Regions from separate parts of the Homo sapiens genome. Here regions 2, 3, 4 and 5 are each linked to region 1. The links are contacts of gene promoters, found by promoter capture Hi-C in blood cells and fetal thymus (Javierre and others, 2016). All regions are on one chromosome and are shown on one strand. The core of a region is centred on a gene start or on the middle of the fragment in contact, and the rest is flanking DNA. Distances in the headings are between cores, read along the strand shown.

Region 1 (4,632 bases), core at 1,212-3,711:
TTCCTGCAGCGATTTTCTTAGCTCTTCAATCTCTTGGAGTAAATTTAGGAGCACTTTTTCTTTAGTTTCTTTATGGTCAGTGTCCATCTGTTTAATATTCTTTTTTTTTTTTTGAGACAGTAACCTTGTCACGTTGTCTCTGTCACCTTGACTGGACCACCCTGTCACCTAGGCTGGACCACCCTGCAGAGGCCAGATCTCAGCTCACTGCAACCTCTGCCTCCAAGGTTCAAGCGATTGTCTCGTCTCAGCTTCCCCAGCAGCTGGGATTACAGGCGCCCGCCACCACGCCTGACTAATTTTTGTATTTTTAGTAGAGACTGGGTTTCACCATGTTGGCCAGGCTGGTCTTGAACTCCTGACCTCAGGTGATCCACCTACCTCGACCTCCCAAAGTGCTGGGATTACAGGTGTGATGCATTGCACCCAGCCTCAATATTCTTTTTGAGTGCTGACATTTCAGAGTCTTTCTCGTGGCTGAGTTTAATTACACACTCTTGCTCTAGCTGTAAGGCAGAGCTCTCCAGGTTAGCTTCAGTGGACAATCTTTTCATGGTTTTCTCAGAGTTGTTTCTTCCAATAGCCTCTTTTCAGCTAGGGGTCTCACTCTGTCACCCAGACAAGAGTGCAATGGTGTGATAATAGCTCACTGCAGCCTCAAATTCCTGGGCTCAAATGATCCTGTTGCCTCAGCCTTTCAACTAGTTGGGAGTACAGGTGCATGCCACTGCTTCTGGCCTTTTTTTTTTTTTTAAATTTTTCATAGAGATGAGGTTTTAGTATGTTGTCCAGGCTAGTCTCATACTCCTGAGCTCAAGTGATCTTCCCATCTTGACCTCCCAAAGTGCTAGGATTACAGGTGTGAGCCACTGCACCTGGCCCCAGAAGATAATTTTTTATTTGTCTTTTACTCTATGTTCAAATTCTTCAATTTTTTGGTAGACTCTACTTTTTCAATTTGTAGAGCTTGCATGAATAGTGTTTTCCTTCTCTTGAAGTTTAGAGAGATCATGTACTGTAATTCCTGAGCCACCTTGCTGTAACAAATTTTCCAGTTCTTCAATCTTTTCTTCCTAATTGCTTAGATTTTCTTGATGCTTACAACTTATTTCCCTCAATTTCTGTTGATGAACATTCTGTAATACTGATAATTCAAGCTGATGGTCATCAGTATCCTGACTTCTTTTTTGTTTGAGCTCCTTGATGATATTAATATTTGGTGTTTGTAGTTTGTAGATTTCATTTTCATCAAAACTAGTTGTTCCTCCTATTTTATAAGTCTGAGCAATACATTTCCAATGGCCAACTGGAGACTCAAGTTTTAGAACTTCATTGGACTATCTGTTTATTTCTTGTTATGATGAAATTATGTCATAAAAACCCATGTAAGCGTCGTGGAACACTGAAGCATGATGGGTACCACATGGAATGGAGGGGATGCAGTGTGGATGGGAACCTCCGGCCTTCCCTGAATGTGCTGACTCCAGGGCTGGCTGCCGGTCCTGCAACCGATCCTGTAGTGCTTGCTTTCTTGTTTTAGGAAGGCTCATTTCTACCTCTTTCTGTTGTAATTGATGTCGATAACTTTTAGTTTGCTGCCCTATCTGAAGCTCTGATGCTTCCTAGGTCTCTCCTAGGTCACTAAAAAGATCTTGAAGTCCCTCATTCTTTGATATTAAGAATTCCAAACTGGCATCAGTCTCCTTTATCCCATAGTTAGGGAGCTCTTTCCTTTTTCTATGACATTTAGGAGCACATTTGAGATGTGGCTGATGAAAGAAGCCACATTGCTGCCCATCCAATGCAAAGAAGGGGCTTACCTGGAGCCAAGGCCACCAAACCAGGAAGACATGAGTGTGTGAGCACGTGTGTTAAGGAAAACACACATTGACTTTAATTTTTTTTTTTTTTTTTTTTTTCGAGACAGGGTCTCTCACTCTGTTGCCCAGGCTGGAGTGCAGTGGCGCCATCTCGGCTCACTGCAACCTCTGCCTTTCGGGTAAAAGCCGTTCTCCTGCTTCAGCCTCCTGAGTAGCTGGGATTACAGGCGTCCACCACCACGCCCAGCTAAATTTGTATTGTTAGTAGAGACAGGATTTCACCGTGTTGGCCAGGCTGCTCTCGAACTCCCGAGCTCAAGTGATCTGCCCCCTCGGCCTCCCAAAGTGCTGAGATTACAACGTTGAACCACTGCGCCCTGCTAGAAACAGCTTTTCATACGTTGAAATAAACGAGAGGGTGACCGGGCAGCGTTGGGGTCGGGGAGGCCAGGCGGAGGAGGCCTAGTGGTCTTCTCGCCCGGGGCCTTCTAGCTCTTCGCCCGTGTCAGGTAAGGCACTGTTAGCCTCGGCTCGGTTCGACTCGGCTCTACTCGGGCTCAGCTCGGCTCGGCCAGACCTAGAGGGCGGGCGGGCGGTGCCACTGGAAGTGACGAGGCGAGGGCGGGGCCGCCGGCCCGGGGAGCCACCGCCGCGCCGCCGTTTGGGCCGGGAAGCGATGTAGTAGCTGCCAGGCTGTCCCCCGCCCTGCCCGGCCCGAGCCCCGCGGGCCGCCGCCGCCACCGCCGCCATGAAGAAGCAGTTCAACCGCATGAAGCAGCTGGCTAACCAGACCGTGGGCAGGCGAGTGCGCCGGGCAGCACGGGGGTCGCACCGGGGCTGGGGGCGGAGGGCGGAGGGCGCGGGGGCGGGACGGCTCCTCCGCGGTCCGGCGGCTCTGAGCTGGGCCGCAGCCCCTGCCCGAGACCAGCGGGGCACGGGCCCGGGGGCTGCGCCGCGCTGAGGCCCGAGCGCCGCGCTCCAGGCGGCCCGCCTGTCTCTCAGCGCCGCCGGGCTCCCGAGACCTGCAGGGGAGGGCCGCCGCCTCCTCCGCCACACCGCGGGGTCCCCTGCCCATTGTCCCTGCCCCGGGAGCATCGCCCTCGGGGAGTAGACCCGGTCCTTCTCCTCCCTTCCCGGGGGCCGAGCCAGCTGGGATCGCTGCCCTGGGCTCAACAACGGTGACTTCTGTCCCTAACGCTGTGCCGAGCGCTGTGCTGTGGGGGGCGGCAGTCCCAGGCTTTCCCGGTGCTCCCGCTGTTTGCGAGTCCTTCTCCTGTAAGTGCATGGCGGCAAGAAATGGCTAGAGGGACATGAAAGCCAGCCGGATTTGCTCAGTGAGTTCAGAACGCCCTTTGAGGGAATTCGGAGGTGGTGCTGTCTCAAAACCAGGGCTCCTAGGAACTGGACTGCTGCTGCCAGTTCTTGACATTTAGAAATTAGGAATTGGCGGAAAAGGATTATGGAGACGCCTTGCGCCAATTTAAAAAGTCTCACCTTAGGTTTGGAAACAAATGCTTCTTTATCTTCCTTTGCTACGGTTGAAGTGCTTAACAAGAAACGTTATTGATTATTAAATGGCAGGCTAGACCAGAGTTGGTAGATCAGGTTGTCAGAACAAGAAATGATTTGTGGTTTTTGAGAGTTTCTGGAGGTGACTGTCATGTGCTGTATTATCTGGGGCTAATATTTCAAGGTCTTTCAGGGCAGCTGGCTGTACTGTACCGATTTAGTGTTTATTCAGCAAAGAGATACGAAAGTATGAATTTCTCACAGCTCTTCTTTTGATTTTCTGTTTTTAACAGTTAAGGGGAGTTTGGTTTGGCTGAAGCACGTGGGACACTTCTTTTTTTTGAGTGTATGAAAATACTTTTACTTCCTCTCGAGTTTTCTAAATTTGCTTTTTACTGTTTCATTTCCTCCATCTTTTTGCTTAGTTTCCTTGTTTAATTTTTTCGATTCCCTACCGTATTATTGTGGTGAGAATTAACTCTTATTTTCAGGGTTAATCGCTGCCCCTAAAGCCCAGACAAACCTACTTTTCTGTTATTTGCAGGAAAATTAAAGAAATAATGCTGAGAGGAAGGTAGACGTGTGGTAATGGCGGCTGATGTTTCAAGGAACAGTTTACAAGCACATGATAATTTCTTGTGAGTTTCGTACCCTTGTTAGTGTTCTGAGCAACGTGCATTGTGGAACTAGTATTTAGTAAGTGCCAAGATACATTTGTCAAATAGTCGTTTGGCTTGTTTTTACATTGTTCGTGACAGGTAAGGGACTTTCACTCTTTTTATACAAAGTTCTGAGACTTAAATCTACCAAGCTATTTAGGGTCTCTTTGACTCCTGGGTCATCTTAGAGGCTTCTCCCTTCACACTTTTTTTTTTTTTTGAGACAGGGTCTCCCTTTGTCACCCAAGCTGGGGTGCAGTGGTGCGATCTTGTCTCATTGCAGCCTTGACTTCCCTGGGCTCAAGCGACCCTCTCGCCTCAGCCACCTATGTGGTTGGAACTACAGGTGGGCACCACCACATCCGCTAATTTTTGTATTTTTTGTAGAGTGGGGATTTGCCATGTTGCCTAGGGTGGTCTCGAACTCCTGGCCTCAACTGATCTGCCTGCCTTGGCCTCCCAAAGTTCTGGGACTACAAGCGTGAGCCACCTTGCCTGGCACCTTCACATTTTAAAATTCCGGCCATGCTTGCCTACCTTCAGTTTCCACAGGAGGTCTTGCTTTCTTACCTGCTAGCATCTACTTGGAACTCCTGGAAGCCTCTCCCACCACACCTTTTCTCCAGGCACCTCTTGCTCATTCT
Region 2 (4,632 bases), core at 1,399-3,898, 210 kb before region 1:
AGTGGAAGCAGGGGGTCGCTCCTCTGGGCCTCTGCCCTGGCAGGAAATGCAGGAACTCCCCTGTCCTCAGTCTGGGACAGGTGAGCTGAGGACACCTGGAGCAGCAGGAATCCCACGAGCTCTGCTTCACCGAGCCTTCAGGATGAGGCGGGTCTTCCCATCTCCAATGAAGCACCTGCAAGAAAGATGACCCAGTAAGGTCTCTGCCCCGGAGGTGAGACCCAGCCCTTCGTCATGTCTCCAGGCTCAGAAGTCTCCAGAAAGATGACTTCCTGAGCCTCCCCAGCCTTAATAGCCAGATCCCCTTGCAGAGAGAGAGACAGTTTCCTGCTTGGTTTCTTTTTTTTTTTTTAATTGAGACAGAGTCTCACTCACCCAGGCTGGAGTACAGTAGCATGATCTCAGCTCACTGCAGCTTCCACCTCCTGGGTTCAAGCAATTCTCATACTTCAGCCTCCCGAGTAGCTGGGACTACAGACAAGCACCACCACACCTGGCTGATTTTTGTATTTTTAGTAGAGACAGGGTTTTAACCATGTTGGCCAGGCTGGTCTCCAACTCCTGACTTCAAGTGATCCACCCACCTTGGCCTCCCAAACTGCTGGGATTACAGGCGTGAACCACATGCCCGGGTCCTGCTTGGTTTCTAACCCTTTTCCTGAAGATGCTCATTGCTGCCACTCTGAAAGCCCAGAATTAAATGAAGCCGGGTGCAGTGGCTCACGCCTGTAACCCAGCGCTTTGGGAGGCAGATCACTTGAGGTCAGGAGTTGGAGACCAGCCTGGCCAACATGGTGAAGCCCCATCTCTACCAAAAAAATCACAAAAACTGGCTGGGCGCGGTGGCTCATGCCTATAATCCTAGCACTTTGGGAGGCCCAGGCAGGTGGATCACATGAGGTCAGGAGTTCGAGACCAGCCTGGTCAACACGGTGAAAACCCGACTCTACTAAAAATATAAAAATTAGCTGGGCGTGGTGGCGGCGCCTGTAGTCCCAGCTGCTTGGCAGGCTGAGGCAGGAGAATCTCTTGAACCCGGGGGCGGAGGTTGCAATAAGCCAGAATCACACCACTGCACTCCAGCCTGGGCAACAGAGGGAAACTGTCAAAAAAAGAAAAGGAGAAAGACCAAGTCCTAAAGACATTGTTTGAGCGCCACCTGAAACCACTGCTACCTGTGAAGTTTTTGATGATGTGAGCCAATGAATTCCTCTTTATGACATAAGCTATTTTGAAATAGATCTCTGTCACTTGCAACCAAAGCTCCTAGATGGAGCCATTTTCTTTGCCTCTAAAGAGGCTCCCTCTTTTCTCTTCCAAACCCAAGTGAGAGCCTAGCCCTCTAGTCCCGGACTCTCTGGGAGATGTTGCCAAGTGCCCATCCAATGGGCCGGTGACCCTGTGTCACACTCCTACCTAATGAGCAGTCCAACAAGCAGGCCAGCCAGGAGTGGGCCCAGCCAGTAGATCCAGTGGAAGTTCCAGTGGTTGGCCACCACCGCAGGTCCAAAAGCACGGGCGGGATTCATGCAGCCTCCAGACACAGGGCCCCTGCAAACACCCAGGCACCAAGGTCACCAGGATCCCAGCCAAACCCCACCTCACCTCACACTCATGTCCCCAACTAGGCCTAGTCACACACCACCCAGAAACCCTCTCTAAACTCCTACATCATGAGCTCCTGGGTAGATCCTAAAGAAGGCAGAGGGGCTATTAGCACCAGGAAGCAGAAGGCATGGCTCCCCGCTGGGCGTGCAGTCCAGCACTCCCCACACACTCCTCTAGAATGCCCAGCAAAAATGCCTACTGGGTGATGGCAGGAAGAGAAGCTGGAGCTACATTTGCTCCAAAGTCTACAAAGGAAAGTCAATCAGTTTCAATCCTTTTGGAGTCAAGCTGACCTAGATTCAAAACCCAGCCCACACATTATAAAATAACAAAAAGTGTATCATAGGATTGTTCGTGACCCAAAGAATAAATGCTTGAGGGGATGAATACCCCGTTTACTTTGACGTGATTATTACACATTGCATACCTGTATCAAAACATCTCATGTAACCTCAGCCAGACACAGAGGCTCATGCCTGAAATCCCAGCAGTTTAGGAGGCCAAGGCAGGCAGATCACTTGAGGTCAGGAGTTAGAGACCAGCCTGGCCAACATGGTGAAACCCTGTCTGTATTAAAAATACAAAGTTAGCTGGGAATAGTGGCACACGCCTGTAGTCCCAGCTACTGGGGAGGCTAAGCCAGGAGAATTGCTTGAACCTGGGGGTTGGAAGTTGCAGTGAGCCATGATCATGCCACTGCACTCCAGCCTGGGTGACAGAGCAAGACTCTGTCTCAAAAACTAAAACTAAAAATAAAATAAAATAACGAAGAGTATAAGTGGATTGTTTGTGACACAAAAAATAAATGCTTGAGGGGATGAATACCCCATTCACCTTGATGTGATAATTATGCATTGCATGCCTGTACCAAAACATCTCATGTAACCCAGAAATATATACACCTACTAGGTTCACCCACAAAGCTTTAAAAATATACATATAAAGAAAGAAAAACCCCAGCCCAGATAGTTCTAGGTGTGGGAACCTCCATGAACCTCTCTGTGTTCAGGTGAGGTGAAAGTGACTATCCCATAGGTTGTCATCAGGAGTGAATGAGAAAATGCAAATGGAGCCCACACCTCGAATATAATTAATGTACAAAAAGCATTAACTAATCTAGCTGGTCCAGATGAGGCCCTTGTTGCACCACAAGCTTAAGACCCAGAATCCTACAGGGAGACTCTTCCCCAGGTGCACTCCTCTCGTTCTGGGGCTCTGTCTTTACCCCATTCTCTCCAGCTGGGGGCCTGTAGACCTCATCCCCACCCTGTGTCCAGCTTCGAAGTCAAAAAGCTTGTAAGTAGGCGGGGCGCGGTGGCTCAGCCTGTAATCCCAGCACTTTGGGAGGCCAAGGCGGGCGGATCATGAGATCAGGAAATCGAGACCATCCTGCCTAATACGGTGAAACCCCGTCTCTACCAAAAATACAAAAAAAAATTAGCCGGGCGTGGTGGCGGACGCCTGTAGTCCCAGATACTCGTGAGGCTGAGGCAGGACAATGGCGTGAACCCGGGAAGCGGAGCTAAAAAAAAAAAAAAGGGCTTGTAAGTGAATCAAAGACCACTAGGGGGCAGCAAAGCATGGCCACAGCTTTACACACACATTCCCCAGCCTGCCCCAGGCTCCACCTCCCAAAGTTGAGGGAGAGCTGACCCAGGAGAAAGGTTAGACTTGGTTCTGTGTCCAAAAGAAAGGAAAGAGTCAGACATTAGGGAGGGGCTCCCTGGGCTGGGCACTGTGGCTCATGCCTGTAATTCCAGTACTTTTGAGAGGCCAACGCAGGAGGATGGCTTGAAGCCAGGAGTTCAAGACCAGCCTGGGCAACAGAGCGTGACCCCTATCTCTACAACAAAAATTAAAAGGGTTCACTCAGCCTCTTGTCCCAAATCTATCACTTAATTTGCCACTGCCCACTGACCTTAAATAAGTCACTTCTGTCCTCTCTAAGCCTCAGTTTCCTTATCTATAAAACGGGAGACATCATCCCCAATCTTGTCTACTTAATCCCTTCCAAAGCCTGCTGGGAGTCTAAAAATAAATGAGACAACAGCTACACATGCTCTTTGTAAGCCTGAGGCTAAAACCCGGCTGCCCGCTGACCGAATGAACACAGTTCACAGAAATGTTGTATTTACGCTACCAACATTGGAAAACATCACATACAGATTTAAATTTCTGACTTCCTTTGAATGAAAGCATCAGCCCAGACCCATGTACCCAGCAATAATTGACAAGAGCTGAACTGACTGCAGCACCTCTGACACTGCAGTCCCCACCACTCCCTGTTGTCTGCCTGATGCCAGCCCCCCTCCCCATTTGCAGCACCTTCCTGGCCCCTAATAGCAACTGAATCTGTGACCCTCAGGCCTGAAATCCCCCAGAGCTGAACAGCACAGATCTGGGCATGGTCACCCCACTGCCAAGGGACACTCACCCAGCCAGGATATCCACGGTGACGGCAAAGCCGATGGAGAACGGGGCCAGAGGGCCCTTTGTCTTCTCATTGATGGCACCCATGCATACAGCCAGGGCCAGCAGCGTCGTCAGGATGATCTCTGCCACCAACGCCCCTGCCACCTGCCCCTGCTCCTGGACTGTCACAAAGGCCGCCCCAGATGCATTCCAGAACCTCTCCTCAGGACTCACCGCCTGCACAGAGAAGCTGCTGAGCCTCACAGTGGGGCAGAGAGACAGCTGGAAACTGAGGGGAGAGGGCCTAAAAAACGCATGCTACCCACCTTAAGAGCCAGTGAAGGGTTATGTCCAATTTCAGTTAGATATACCTGCATCCACATCCCAGCTCTGCCAGATTTTACTGTGCGACCCTGCGTGAACTACTGAACCTTTCTGAGCCTCACTTTGTTCAGCTGAAAAATAGTAATGGGGCTAGGCGTGGTGGCTCACGCCAGCAACCCCAGCACTTTGGGAGGCTGAGATGGGTGGGTCACTAGAGCCCAGGAGTTTGAGACCAGCCTTGCCAACATGGTGAAACCCCATCTCCACTACAAATACAAAAATTAGCGG
Region 3 (4,632 bases), core at 1,559-4,058, 160 kb before region 1:
AGAATGGTAAATAAGCACTGACCTTAACTTAATGTCACCAGCTGCATTTCATACTAGACACTAAGAAGTCAGGCTTTCCTATGAAGTTTTGAAGCCAGGCATTGAATTCTCCTCTCTAGCTTTGGAAGTCCTAGATGGCATCCTCTTGCAAGAGAAAGCTGTTTTGCCTACATTGAAAATCTGTTGTTTAGTGTAGCCACCTTCCTTCATCAATGATCTCAGCTGGATCTTCTGGACAACTTGCTTCAGTTTCTCCATCAGCACCTGCTGCTTCACCTTGCACTTTTATGTTATGGAGACGGCTTCTTTCCTTAAACCTCAGGAACCAACCTCTGCTAGCTTCCAACTTTTCTTCTGCAGCTTCCTCTCCTCTCTCAGCCATCACATAATTGAAGAGAGTTAGGGCCCTGCTCTCGATTAGGCTTTGGCTTAAGGGAAGGTTGTGGCTGGTTTGATCTTCTATACAGACCGCTCAAACTTTCTCCATATCGGTAATAATACAGTTTCGCTTTCTTATCATTCATGTGTTCACTGGAGTAGCACTTTTTCATTTCCTCCAAGAACTTTTCCTTTGCATTCACAACTTGGCTGTTTGGCACAAGAGGTCTAGCTTTCGGCCTATTTCAGTTTTTTTTTTTTTTTTTTTTTTTTTCAGATGGAGTCTCACTCTGTCACCCAGGCTGGAGTGCAGTGGTGCCATCTTCGCTCACTGCAACCTCTGCCTCCCAGGTTCAAGCGATTCTCCTGCCTCAAACTCCCAAGTAGCTGGGACTACAGGCGCCTGCCACCACACCAGGCTAATTTTTGTACTTTTAGTAGAGATGAGGTTTCACTATGTTGGCCAGGCTGGTCTCAAACTCCTGACCTCAGGTGATCCGCCCACCTCGGCCTCCCAAAGTGCTGGGATTACAGGCATGAGCCACCACAGCCGACCCTATTTCAGCTTTTGACGTGCCTTCCTCACCAAGCTTAATCATTTCCAGCTTTGATTTAAAGTGAAAGGCATGTGACTCTTTGTGACTCTTCCTTTCACTTGAGCATGTAGAGGCCATTGTAGGGTTATTAACTGGCCTAATTTCAATATCAAATTTGGAATAGGACGGATGGGAGGATCACTTGAACCCGAGTTCAAGACCACCCCTGGCAACATAGGGAGACCCTGTCTCCACAAAAAAAGTTAAAAATAGCCAGGCTTGCTGGTGTGTGCCTGTGGTTCAGTTACTCAGGAGGCTGAGGAAGGAGGATCACTTGAGCCCAAGGAGGTTGAGGCTGCAGAGAGCTATGACTGCACTACTGCACTCCAGCCTGGGAGATGGGGCAAGACCCTTTCTGAAAACAACAACAACAAAAAGTAAACATTGTGGGGCCAGGCACGGCGGCTCACGCCTGTAATCCCAGCACTTTGGGAGGCCGAGGCAGGTGGATCACGAGGTCAGGAGATAGAGACCATCCTGCCTAACGTGGTGAAACTCCATCTCTACTAAAAACACAAAAAAAATTAGCTGGGCATGGTGGCGGGCTCCTGTAGTCCCAGCTACTTGGGAAGCTGGGGCAGGAGAATGGCGTGAATCCGGGAGGTGGAGCTTGCAGTGAGCTGAGATCGCGCCACTGCACTCCAGGCTAGGTGACAGAGCAAGACTCCGTCTCAATAAAAAAAGTAAACATTGTTTCTGCTAATGCTATACATATACCAGAGTTACCCCTTTCCTGTGGTTTTGTTTTCCAAGGTTTCCGTTACCTGAGGTCAGTTGAGGTCCAAAAATAAGTGAGTATAGCTAAGATATTTTCTTTTTTTCCAAGATGGAGTCTTGCTCTGTCATCCAGGCTGGAGTGCAGTGGCGCAATCTCGGTTCACTGCAACCTCTGCCTCCTGGGTTCAAGCAATTCTCCTGCCTTACAGATGCCTGCCACCAAGCCCGGATTTTTTTTTTTTTTTTTTTGTATTTTTAGTAGAGACAGGGTTTCACCATGTTGGCCAGGCTGGTCTTGAACTCCTGACCTTGTGATCTGCCCATCTCAGCCCCCCAAAGAGCTGGAATTACAGGCGGCGGGGCGGTGGGGGGGGGGTTTCACCATGTTGGCCAGGCTGGTCTCGAACTCCTGACTTCAGGATCCACCTGTCTTGGCCTCCCCAAGTGCTGGGATTACAGGCGTGCACCACTGCACTCGGCCAGTTAAGATATCTTCAAAGACCACATTCACATAACCTTAACATATTGCTATAGTTGTTCTTTTTTAAATTGTTGCTAGTCTTACTGCACCTAATTTATACATTTTATCACAGGTATTTATTGATAGGAACACATCCCATCAACTGGCATGCCACTAGAGGTGCAGGGCCCACACTCTAGGGGACACTGATTTAAGGATTCTGAATGGTAGAAGAGAGGCTGTTACCTCTCCAGCAGAGGAGAGCGCTGGGGACTTCTGCAGTGCCACCCTGCACATGCAGGTTCAGGCTCGCAGCGCCAGTCACATAACTTAAGAAGTCCCTGTAGACAAGGTCTACCCATCACTCAGGGAGTTCAGCAGACAGGTATGGGACAAGCCTTATGTTTCTGAAATATGAGGTCATCACTCAGGGGCCCTATGAACCTGTCTCATAACTGCATTGACTTCTAGTTGTGGCTGTAAGTTTAAGCCCCCAACTTGGTGGCTCAAAACACCACAGATCAGTCTGGGCACAGAGGCTCATGCCTGTAATCCCAGCACTTTGGGAGGCCAAGACGGGCGGATCACTTGAGGTCAGGAGTTCGTGACCAGCCTGGCCAACATGGTGAAACTCTATCTCCACTAAAAATACAAAAATTAGACAGGCATGATGGTATGCACCTGTAATCCCAGCTACTTGGGAGGCTGAGGCGGAAGAATCACTTGAACCCGGGAGGCAGAGGGTGCAGTGAGCCGAGATCGCGCCACTGCACTCCAAGCCTGGGCAACAGAGCAAGACTCCATCTAAAAAAAAGAAAAAAAAAAAAAAAAAACCACCACCACAGATGTATTCTCTTACGGCTCTGGAGGTGAGAAATCTGAAATCGATTTCTCTGGGCTAACATCAAGGTGTTGGCAGGCAGTTCCAGCTGGAGGCCAAGGGAGGGTCTGCTGCTATTGCCCTAGGTAGCATCCCCTGGTTGCCCCTGCTTCTTGTCTGGGCCCCTCTGACTCTGACGCCTCGTCTGTCCCTCTAATGAGGACCCCGTGATCCTATCAGGCCCACCTGGATAACCCAGGACCACCTCTTCATCTCAAACCCCTAATCCCATTTGCAAAGCCCCTTTGCCACAGAAGGTAACACACACTCACAGGTTCTGGGGATCAGGACATGGACACTTTAGGGGCCATTCTTCAGCCTGCCACCATGACCAAGATGAAGGAGGCAACTGAGCAGGCCAGTGTGGCCAGGGCGGAGACAGGAGCCCGAGAAGAGCACTAGCCTCACATCTGGTGGAGGACAAGGGTCAGGGAGTGAGGCACAATGTCATGTGCTGCAACAAACAGCATGTGAGGGAGTAGATCCTAAAATGGACTCAAGGTCATGGGCCGGGTGTGACTCACAGGGAGTAAGCCAAGGTCAAAGCAGACTTGGGGTCCTTGGCTTTAGCTAACACAGAGGTGAACCCTGGCCCGCCCAAGCCATGGGGCACGGAACGAGCAGCGGCAGCCAGCAGAGGTCCAACCACAGGCGACTGGTGGCAAGTGAGATTTATTTAAACAACGACATGTCAACAGGAACAGGAAGAGGAACATGTGCGACCACTGTAGTGACCAAGGCTTCTCAAGAGTGTGGGATGAGACCTGCGGACGAGGCCCGCCCACCGCTCAGGGAGCTTGCAGGTCTCCTCCAGGAGGGCAAGTGGCTTCGGCTTCTGGCTCGGCATAAGCCTTCGACAGATTAATAAGTTATCTCCTTCAGCCCTGAGGGGAGAGACACACAGACACCATTAGGAGACTCTGGTGGCCAGGAGCAGAGGCCCCTAGAGGACCCCCAGTGACCGGCTCAGGGGCACCAGCCACACTGCTGACCACTGTAGCACCGCCCTCCTGCTACATAAAATGAGGTTTCGCAAGGAAACAAAAGGTTGGGTAAGACTGTGTTTATGGGTGGTTTTAAAATGATTAAGAAAACATTATAACAGTTTATGGACTGTCTGCAGTTAACGCCAAAAATCTACCCTTTATGTGCTGAACTTTGAGCAAAGGCAGATACGGATCTTCCACACACACAGACAAGCACTGATGTCCCAAAGCAGTCACGGGTCAGTGGGGACAAAGTAAATTCCTGACATTAAAATGCTCAATATATTGTTCCTTTGTGAGAACTAGAGTTCACTTAAAAGTATTACAAATAACCTACATTTCCAAAAATATGGAAATATTAATTCAGCCATAGTGACATAATACAATATTATAAAGCCATTACAATTATGCTCATTGAGCATTTTTAATTGCCAGGGGGAAATGCTAATGTTATAACATTAAATTGAAAACACTTGAAATCAAAGTTGCATAAATATAAAAATTCAACTCTTATTATAAAAACAAACAAAACACTATTTAGAAATAGAGGGGAAGGGAAAAGTCACAAGAGGTCATCTCTGACTGACAGGCATACAGGTGGATTTTCTTAGTCAT
Region 4 (4,632 bases), core at 910-3,409, 170 kb after region 1:
CAGGCATGTGTCACCACGCCTGGCTAATTTTTGTGTTTTTAGTAGAGATGGGGTTTCACCATGTTGCCCAGCTTGTCTTGAACTCCTGACCTCGGGTGATCCACCCGCCTCGGCCTCCCAAAGTGCTGGGATTACAGGCGTGAGCCACCGTGCCCGGCTTCTCATTGTTACTTAATAGATGTCTGAAAGTTCACACGTGCGAGTTACAGACCAAGCTTTCCAGCCCAAGCACGTGCTTCTTCCAGTCTTCCCCACCTCACTAAATGACAGCTGCAGCCACTCTGCCACTCCTGCCAGAAACCTGAGTCATCTATAAGGCATTAGTCCATTTGTTCACTTATCAAGTGGTCTGTGAGCACCTCTATGTGCCAGGCACTACATCTAAGCACCAAGAGTGCCTGGTATGTAAATGTCTCATCGAAGAATTTATAGCATCTCTTTCTCACCTCCCAGAATCTATTCACTCCCAATTCCATTCTCTCTTACTTCCAAAACATAATAAATCCACACATTTTCCCTCATTTTTAGTGCTATCACCCTTGTCTGAGCCACCATCACTTCTGTCTAGGTTAGAGAAAGACCCTCCAGTCTTACCTCCCCGATATCCATTCTTCCTTCCTTTTTATTTTATTATTTTATTTTTGTTTTAATTTACTTAATTTTTAGAGACAGGGTCTTGTTCCCTTGACCAAGCCGCAGTGCAATGGTGCCATCAGAGCTCACTGTGGCCTCAAACTCTCGAACATCTGTGCTCAAGGGATCCTCCCACCTCCGTCTCCCAAGTAGGTGGGACCACAGGTACATGCCAACATGCCTAGCTAATTTTTTATTTTTTGAGACAGGGTTTCACTCTGTTGCCTGGGCTAAAGTGCAGTGACACAAACACAGCTCCTGCAGCCTCAACCCCATGGGCTCAAATGATCCCTGCACAGTGCTGGGATTACAGGTGTGAGCCACCATGCCTGGCCTCCAGCTAACTTCTTATTTTGTAATTTTTTTGTAGAGACGGGGTCTTGCTATGTTGCCCAGACGGGTCTCAAACTCCAGGCCTCAAGCAATCCTCCCAACTTGGCCTCCCAAAGCACTGAGGTTGCAGGCATGAGCCACCTCACCCAGCCTTGCTTCCTTTTAATCCGCCCCTCACACGGAAGCCAGAGAAATCTTTAAGTATGAGTCAGATCAGATCATTTTCCTGCTCAAAACATCTCCATGCTGCTGGGGTGCTTTGTTGTGCTTCCAACCCCACCACATACTAGCATTCATTTTATTCCTGGAACACGATTTCTGGCCTCAGGGTCTTTGCCATTCTGTTCCCTCTGCCTGGGATGCTCTTCCCTGCACTCTTTGCTGGACAAGCTCCTACTCATCCTTTAGATGTCAGCCTGCTGTATATCCCCAAAGGAGCCCCCTCTTGGCCTCAATATAAATTGGGTCCCCAAGCTTTTTGCTTTCATGGCAAACACAACTTCTCATCACAGTCTAATCAAGTGTAACACTTGATGTGTGTGATTACCCCTTGTCTGCACTGCACAGCAAGCCCCATAAAGAAAGGTCCATGTCTCTGTCACTCTCATTGTGTCCCCAAAACAGGCATGCAATAAATGTTGGTACAACAAATAAATGTGGGATTTTTAGAGCCTTTGCTATAGATCCTTTGCACGCTGTGACCGCCCAAAAAAGGGACAGCATTTTTCCAAGTCCTATCTGCAGGATGCCCAATGGGCTAGGACACTTCTGTCAACTATTGCCCAGAATAATTCAGCAGAACACCATTTGAAAACCACTGATTGGTAGGGTGCAGTGGCTCATGCCTGTAATCCCAGCACTTTGCAAGGCTGAGGCGGGAGAATCGCTTGAGTTCAGGAGATTGAGACCAGCCAAGGCAACACAGGGAGACCCCATTTGTACAAAAAATAAAAATAAAAAAGTTAGCAGGGCATGCTGGTGAGCTATGATAGTACTACATTTCAGCCTGGGCAACACAGAGAGACCCTGTGAAAGAAAAGACAGAAAAGAAACGAGAGAGAGAGAGAACAGAAAACACACACAGAGAGAGAGAGGAGGCAAAGAAGGAAAGAAGGAAGGAGAAAGGGAAAGAAAGGAAGAAATAAATAATAAAAGAGAGAGAAGAAAGAAAGAAAGAAAGAAAAAAGGGAAAAGAAAGAGAAACAGAGAGGTGGGAGGGAGGGAAGGAAGGAAAGAAGGAAGGAGAAAGAAAGGGAAAGAAAGGAATAAGGAAAGAAATAAAAGAAAGAAGGAAAGAAAGAAAGAACAAAGAAAAGAAAGGAAAAGAAAGAAAAAGAAAGAAAGAGAAAAAGAAAGAAAGGAAAGAAAAAGAAAATCACTGATATTGTGGCTGAGCTCATGGCCACAGGAATTGAGTCTTGGCTTGGCCACTCACTATCTGTATTACCTTGAGCAAGTTATTTAATGACCCTTAGACTCTGTCCATGAATTAGGGGGTGCTGTACCTACCTTACAGGGTTTCTGTGTCAGTTAGATGAGATCCAGGCGTAAAGTTCTCTGCACGTGTCTGACACGTACCAGTGAAGACTTGTATTTGCCTTGTAGTTAACAGCAGCTGCAGTTGTAGTAAATACATTCCTATAGCTTTTTAATGCTTATGTGGATACATTTACCTTCGTTATCTCTGGGTAACACACCTGTGGGGTGGGTCAGCCTGAGGTTCATATTCCCATTTGACAGATAAGGAACCTGAGACTCGGTGAGGCAAAATGTTTGGCTCAATGTCCCTGACCTTGGTTAAGTGGAAGAGCTGGGACCCACGTACGGTGCTGCTGGCTGCCGGCTGCTGGCTTCATACCACCATGCCCACCCCACAAACACACTCCATTGTCCTGGTGTATGACAAGCTTTCTCTGCAGAGAGGGCTGAGCTTCCCCTGCCCCACAGGTGACAGCTGGAGTCCTTCTGCCAGCACCTGTCCCCAGACCAACTTCCCAGTTTGGAGAGTGGCTACCTGTTTGGGGGCAGGGGGTGTCTTACCTTATTCCAGATGCAGGGCTCACCTGCCCTGGGGGCTGTCAGTGGCTTCTAAGGCACTAGGAGGTGGCGGTGGTTGTAAGGAGGGAGATACCCGGGATCCTCTCTCTTTGCAGCCAAGAGCTTCCGGAGACAGCAGTGACCCTTCCTCCTATATGCCCGCTGCTGAGAGAGCCTCCAAGCGGGTCAAACTCCAAACTCCAGCCTCAGCTGCAGCGGGGATTAAAGGAAGCGTGAATGATCTCCCCAGGGCAGAAGAGAGAACGGGGCCCAGCCCAGGACCCTTGAACTCTGAGCAGGTGGGGAAGGTGACATGTCCCACGCTCTGCCCACACCGTCCTCCACCAGGGTCCTCACCTGCGTGGGGACCCATGGCATGGAGGGGTTGGGGAGACGCTGGAGCCCAAGGCACCATCCTGCTTCACTCACCCAGTCTTCCACTGTCCCGCCTCCACGCTGGGGACAGGCAGGCTTGGGACGAGCTGGAGGAAGGGGAGGGGAGGAAAAATGCTGGCGGCGGATGGAGGGGACAGAGGCAAAGTGCCAGGAGGGACGTCCAGCCACAGCCCTCACCGCAGTGGCAGCAACAGGAACAGCAACCATTGCTTGTGCAACCCCTTTCCATATACTCTTCAGACAGAGGCATGGCAAAGAACAGGTGTCTGCCTGAAGTCGAGAGTTCGAGACCAGCCTGACCAACATGGAGAAACCCCATCTCTACTAAAAATACAAAGTTAGCCGGGTATGGTGGTGCATGCCTGTGGTCCCAGCTACTCGGGAGGCTGAGGCAGGAGAATCACTTGAATCCGGGAGGCGGAGGTTGTGGTGAGCCGAGATTACACCATTGCACTCCAGCCTGGGCAACAAGAGCGAAAATCAGTCTCAAAAAAAGAAGAAGAAGAAGAAGAAGAGGTGTCTGAGGCCCTGAAAAACCGTCAGGAGTGACCGAGCCATGGCCAGGCGCCCACATCGGGCCCAGGACATCAGCGGGGCATAGCGAAGATTTCTGCCAGATGCTCAAAGCATCCAAAACTTTATTTACTTTTTATTTCTGAGACAGGATCTCACTCTGTCACCCAGGCTGGAGTGCAGTGGTGGCATCACAGCTTGCTGCAGGCTCATCCTCCTGGGCTCAAGTGATCCTCCCACCACAGCCTCCCGAGTAGCTGGGACTACAGGCGTGCACCACCACACCCAGCTAATTTTTTCATTTTTTTGGTAGAGAGAGAATCTTGCTATGTTGCCCAGGCTGGTCTCCAACTCCTGGGTTTAAGTGATCCTCCCACCTTGGCCTCCCAAAGTGCTGGGATTACAGGGGTCAAACACTGTGCCAGGCCAAATACCAAAACATTTTAAAAATAGTTACTAGTATTTGCAAACCAAGAGGCTTGAAACATAATTCTAGAATACTCACTTTTCTAGAACAACCTGAAGATCTGGCCTCACCAGGCCCCCATGGCCACAGGACAGCTGCTGACTGGGGAGGAGTCGTGGCCTCCCCATCTCACTCCTTCACTGGGCCTGCCAGGCTCTGGGGGGCCCTCAGCTGAGGCCCCTGTCCTGGCACCGAGTAGCCAGAAATAATAGCAGTGATGAACACGTGCCAGGCTCTAAGGGCACAACATGCCT
Region 5 (4,632 bases), core at 584-3,083, 140 kb before region 1:
TCAAGCTGTAGGGAAATAACAGGTCCATTATCTGTCCTTGAAGGATGCTTTATCATTATTTTGTAGGGAACTGAATGTATTTGTGGAGGACAGGCTCAGAGCAAGTTTCGAAGGAGTTTTATAATTCTGGGAAAATAAAGCCATTTGTATAAAATCTAGCACTGGCAAGAGGCCATGAGAACAGAAAAATCCTTATCTGTCTGGAATGCTTCTGAGAGCTGGTGGGAAAGATAACTTGGTTGCCAAAATGAGATCTACAATCCCTTCTTTTCCTACATTCTATTTCGTGAGAGAAAAATGTAAGGCAACTGAAATCATTTTGTGTGATACTTACAGAACTTTCTAAAGAAACAGACCGGCCGGGCGCAGTGGCTTATGCCTGGAATCCCAGCACTTTGGGAGGCCAAGACAGGCGAATTGCTGAAGGCCAGTTCGAGACCAGCCTGGCCAGAATCTCTACTAAAAATACAAAATTAGCCAGGCGTGGTGGTGCACACCTGTAATGCCAGCTACTTGAGAGGCTGAGGCATGGGAATTGCTTGAACCCAGGAGGCGGAGGTTGCAATGAGCTGAGAGTGTGCCACTGCACTCCAGCCTGGGTGACAAATCAGAGCAAGACTCTGTCTCAAAAAAAGAAAAAAGCAAGTATTGTGCCAATGTGGATGTGGAACACAGGGGTGGTGTCCAATCTGATTCCAAGGTGAAGCTGTAAAGTGCCCTACAGGGCACGCATCTCAGGAAGCAATTCTGGGTGTTTAAGAATGAAGTAAAAATGGTATTTTTATTTCATTTTATGTGTACTTTTTTTTCAAATGACTAATAAGTTGTTAGGACATAAATACTTCAGCTGTTTAAACCCAACTAATTAAAAAGAACTGCTGAGTGTGTTTTTTGGCTCAGGGGTACTATGAAAACATTACTGAGACAAATTACTGGGAAGCAAGAAAGGTGGGGACCCCCTGGCCTAGCCCAATGCCTGCTACACAGCAGAGGTCTTCTGTGAAGATGACCACAAGTGATTAAATCCAGGCAGGTGCTGGAATGAGCCCAGCTGAGAAGTTCCACCTGAATGAACCCAACCCAAAGAATTGTGAGCTAAATAGATGGTTGTTGTTTTAAGCCACATGCTTTGCAGCAGTTTGTTACAGCGCAGAAGCTAATGGATACAAGCTTTAATTATCTGCCTCATTAAGTTTATATACTTTATCGTCCTAATCAGTTTTTTTTTTATTGTTGTTGCTGGTTTTTTTTGAGACAGCGTTGCATTGTATCACCCAGGTTGCAGTGCGGTGGCACGATCATGGCTCATTACAGCCTCGACCCCCCAGGCTGCCTCAGCTTCCTGTGTAGCTGGGACCACAGACGTGCACCACCATGCCTGGCTAATTTTTTTTATTATTTGTATAGATGGGGGGTGGGCGGGTCTCCTTATGTTGCCCAGGCTGGTCTTGAACTCTTGGGCTCAAGGGATCCTCCTGCCTCTGCCTCCCAGAGTAATGGGATTATAGGTGTGAGCCACCAAGCCAGTCTTAAACACTTTTAAGAGGTGATTAGGTCATGAGGTGAAAAGGCATGAGAAAACTGAAGACTTACACAATGTAACACAGTAGTTAAACACATACACACACACACACACACACAAGTGCTGGTGTATCATATGACTAATAATCTCTTCCATCACCGCCAGGTGCATTTCGAGAGATGTGTTGGATCTGTAGTGAACCCCATCAATCCCATTCATGGTATCTTCTATGACAAACTAATTATCATTGTTGATAAGCATTGCAAAGTGACCTTTTAGGTTCACAGATTTTCCTAGGATCCTTCAATTAAAAAAAAAAAAAAAAAAAAGGTAAAATGGAGACAGCCTCAGGCAGATTTCCGGACTGTACAGAGGATTAGTTTGTCTGACCACCCAACTGACACTCATGGGGCACTGAGCCAAGTCCTGGGAATAACTGATGAACAAGAAGACATGGTCCCTGCCCTCATGGGGCTTAAAATCCAGTGGGAAAGAGAGAGAACAAGGGCAAGTGTGGTAAGTTCTACAGAGAAGTTCAGGGTATTGTGGGGCATGTGAAACAGGCTTCTGACTCCCTTTAGAATGGAGTCCAAAATTCTCAGCCGGCTTTATGATCTTTCTCAATCTTGAAGCACGCACCTCCTGCCACCCGAGCCCCAGCCACACTGGCCTTCCCAGCTCTTCCTTCAGTGTGCCCTGGCTGAGATCATCTGTTCCCTAGGTAGTAGGGTCTCCTCCTCACGGCCCAACTGAAATCCTGTTCACATTCTGAAGTGCTTTCACTTGCTGTTCTTTTCTCTTTCTGCCTAATTTCACCAGAGTTGAAGCGGATTACAAAAACACAAACACATTCATCCATTCAAGCAGTCACGTGAGTATTCATTCAACACTGTCTGTGCACTAGGCACTGCTCTTGGTGCAGAGATTACAGTGGTAAACAAGACAGAAGCAGTCCCTGTTCTCAGGAAGCTTACATGGCAGAAGAGGGAGAAAGTGAATCATTAAATAAATGAGTAATCAAGAATATATCAAGGAGCAGTCAGTACCATGAGGAAACTGAAAGAGAAGAGTGTGACATAAGGCGGCAGGAAGGGGGTCTGTCTTTAACCTCGTAGTCAGGGAGGGCCCCTCTGAGGAAGCGGCAGCTGAGCAGATGAGAAGGAGCCCATCAAGCAAAGAGGAGAGAGGAAATGAAAAGGACTGAGGGGAAGAACATTCTTGGCACAGTCAGAGAACAGTAAGATATCTGTGTGGCTAGATCATAGTTACTGTGGTCAAAGGGAAAATCAGGAGCAGGTGCGGGGGCTCACGCCCTTAATCCCAACACTGAGAGGTCGAGGCGGGAGGATTGTTTGACCCCAGGAGTTTGAGACCAACCTGAGCAACATAGCGAGACCCTGTCTCTCCCCAAAAAATTTAAAATCATCTGTGTGTGGCAGCACACAGCTGTAGTCCCAGCTACTCGGGAGACTGTGGCAGGAGGATCACTGGAGCCCAGGAGTTCAAGGCTGCAGTGAGCTGTGACCAATTGCACCACTGTCCTCCAGCCTGAGCAACAACAGAGTGAGACCTTGTCTCAAAAAAAAAAAAAAAGAAAGAAAGAAAGAAAAGAAAGTAAAATCAGGAGGCACGCAGAGGCCTAATGAACAACATGGGTCCTATCCGATAGGGAGTTTTAAGCAAGGAGGTAACAGAACCCAATTTCCCTTTTTCACTCTTTTGAGAGAAAGGGTCATGCTCTGTCACCCAGAATGAAGTGCTGTGGTGCAATCACAGCTCTCTGTAGCCTACAACTCCTGGGCTAAAGGTATCCTCCTGTCTCAGCCTCCCAAGTAGCTAGGACTATAGGCGTGCACCACCATGCCCAGCTAGTTTTTTTTTTATGTTTTTGTGACAGGGTCTCACTAGGTGCCCTCAGCAATGCTCCCACCTCAGCCTTGTGAAGCACTGGGATTACAGGTGTGAGACACCACACCCGGCCTTCCTTTTTAAAAACACCTTCTGACTTTTCATTGTGTGCCCATTTGTACACTTTTGATTTTTTACCCTAGGCAGACTTTAGCTTAAAAAAAAACATCATCAATTCTAAGATGCATCCTTTCACATTTTAACATTCCTGAAATCAGGATGCATCTAACAGTTGGTGATGTGTCAGCTTAAGTGTCGGCACTTTTTCTTTCTTACTGATAAAGAAATAATGGTGATTCTCACTGTCAACAGCCTTGTAGGTTTGATAAAACAAGGTCATTTTTAAACAAATATTTTTTGTCAGTTTTAAGATCACGTATCAGTTCGCCCAAATTTTCATTCACATTTTTATTTCATTTTTATTCAAATTCTCCTTTCTCAGCACAATCAAAAACTATAAAGAACCAGAGTAAAAAATTCACCGATGAGACACAAAGTTAAAAGATAAGTAAAAGAATGAGAAAAAAGTTCAATAAAAAAAAGTTGACAACAGACCTTTATCAAAGAACACATCTGGCCGGGTGCAGTGGCTCACACCTATAATCCCGCACTTTGGGAGGCCGAGGCCGGTGGATCACGAGGTCAGGAGATCGAGACCATCCTGGCTAACACAGTGAAACCCCGTCTCTACTAAAAATACAAAAAAAATTAGCCGGGCGTGGTGGCGGGCACCTGTAGTCCCAGCTACTTGGGAGGCTGAGGCAGGAGAATGGCATGAACCCAGGAGGCGGAGCTTGCAGTGAGCTGAGATCGCGCCACTGCACTCCAGCCTGGGTGACAGAGCAAGACTCTCAAAAAAAAAAAAAAAAAAAGAACACATCCATGTGTTATGAAGCGTTCCTATAAACTGAAAAGGAAAGAAACTACAAACTAATGGAAAAAGGAAATAAAAAAATTTACAAGAGGTCCCAAAGTCCAATAAAACGAAGGAAAGATGCTCCATCTCACTAGCATTCAAAGTTACATAATTTTTTTTAAATAATAGGGCATCAGCCAGGCCCAGTGGCTCACGCCTGTAATCCCAGCACTTTGGGAGGCCGAGGCAGAGGATCACGAGGTTAGCAGTTCGAGACCAGCCTGACCAACATGCTGAAACCCTGTCTCTACTAAAAATACAAAAAAAAATTAGCCAGGCGTGGTGG

Evidence for each region. Contacts are between HindIII fragments. The CHiCAGO score rates a contact against its expected background, and 5 or more counts as called.
Region 2: a fragment that was not itself captured here is called in contact with the fragment with the promoter of ARHGAP17 in region 1 in 14 of 17 cell types (total CD8 T cells, M2 macrophages, naive B cells and 11 more); the score reaches 8.5 in total CD8 T cells.
Region 3: a contact is called between a fragment that was not itself captured here and the fragment with the promoter of ARHGAP17 in region 1, in 1 of 17 cell types (monocytes). The highest score is 5.3, in monocytes.
Region 4: a contact is called between a fragment that was not itself captured here and the fragment with the promoter of ARHGAP17 in region 1, in 1 of 17 cell types (endothelial precursors). The highest score is 5.1, in endothelial precursors.
Region 5: a contact is called between a fragment that was not itself captured here and the fragment with the promoter of ARHGAP17 in region 1, in 1 of 17 cell types (neutrophils). The highest score is 5.6, in neutrophils.

The regions. Positions count from the first base shown.
Region 1 is chr16:25,013,198-25,017,829 of GRCh38, reverse strand. ARHGAP17 (Rho GTPase activating protein 17) reads left to right here and starts at 2,461. Exons shown (of 20, transcript NM_001006634.3): 1 at 2,461-2,621. The coding sequence starts at 2,569. It also overlaps the pseudogene LOC100421171. RefSeq lists silencers at 2,323-2,572, 2,653-2,702, 2,763-2,812, 2,873-2,922 and enhancers at 2,236-2,904, 2,905-3,573. The HindIII fragment of the contact is 8,408 bases long and covers 1-4,632 here.
Region 2 is chr16:25,223,987-25,228,618 of GRCh38, reverse strand. AQP8 (aquaporin 8) reads right to left here. Exons shown (of 6, transcript NM_001169.3): 4 at 4,043-4,257; 5 at 1,417-1,551; 6 at 1-175. The coding sequence ends at 127. Among named protein-coding and RNA genes, the nearest start is that of AQP8, 9.4 kb to the right of the region's middle. The HindIII fragment of the contact is 230 bases long and covers 2,534-2,763 here.
Region 3 is chr16:25,177,284-25,181,915 of GRCh38, reverse strand. LCMT1 (leucine carboxyl methyltransferase 1) reads right to left here. Exons shown (of 11, transcript NM_016309.3): 11 at 3,688-3,915. The coding sequence ends at 3,893. Among named protein-coding and RNA genes, the nearest start is that of LCMT1-AS2, 31 kb to the right of the region's middle. The HindIII fragment of the contact is 3,676 bases long and covers 971-4,632 here.
Region 4 is chr16:24,844,813-24,849,444 of GRCh38, reverse strand. SLC5A11 (solute carrier family 5 member 11) reads right to left here and starts at 3,482. Exons shown (of 17, transcript NM_001352248.3): 1 at 3,433-3,482; 2 at 3,007-3,213. The HindIII fragment of the contact is 1,433 bases long and covers 1,443-2,875 here.
Region 5 is chr16:25,154,160-25,158,791 of GRCh38, reverse strand. The region is part of intron 5 of LCMT1 (leucine carboxyl methyltransferase 1); the gene reads right to left. Among named protein-coding and RNA genes, the nearest start is that of LCMT1-AS2, 7.4 kb to the right of the region's middle. The HindIII fragment of the contact is 1,321 bases long and covers 1,173-2,493 here.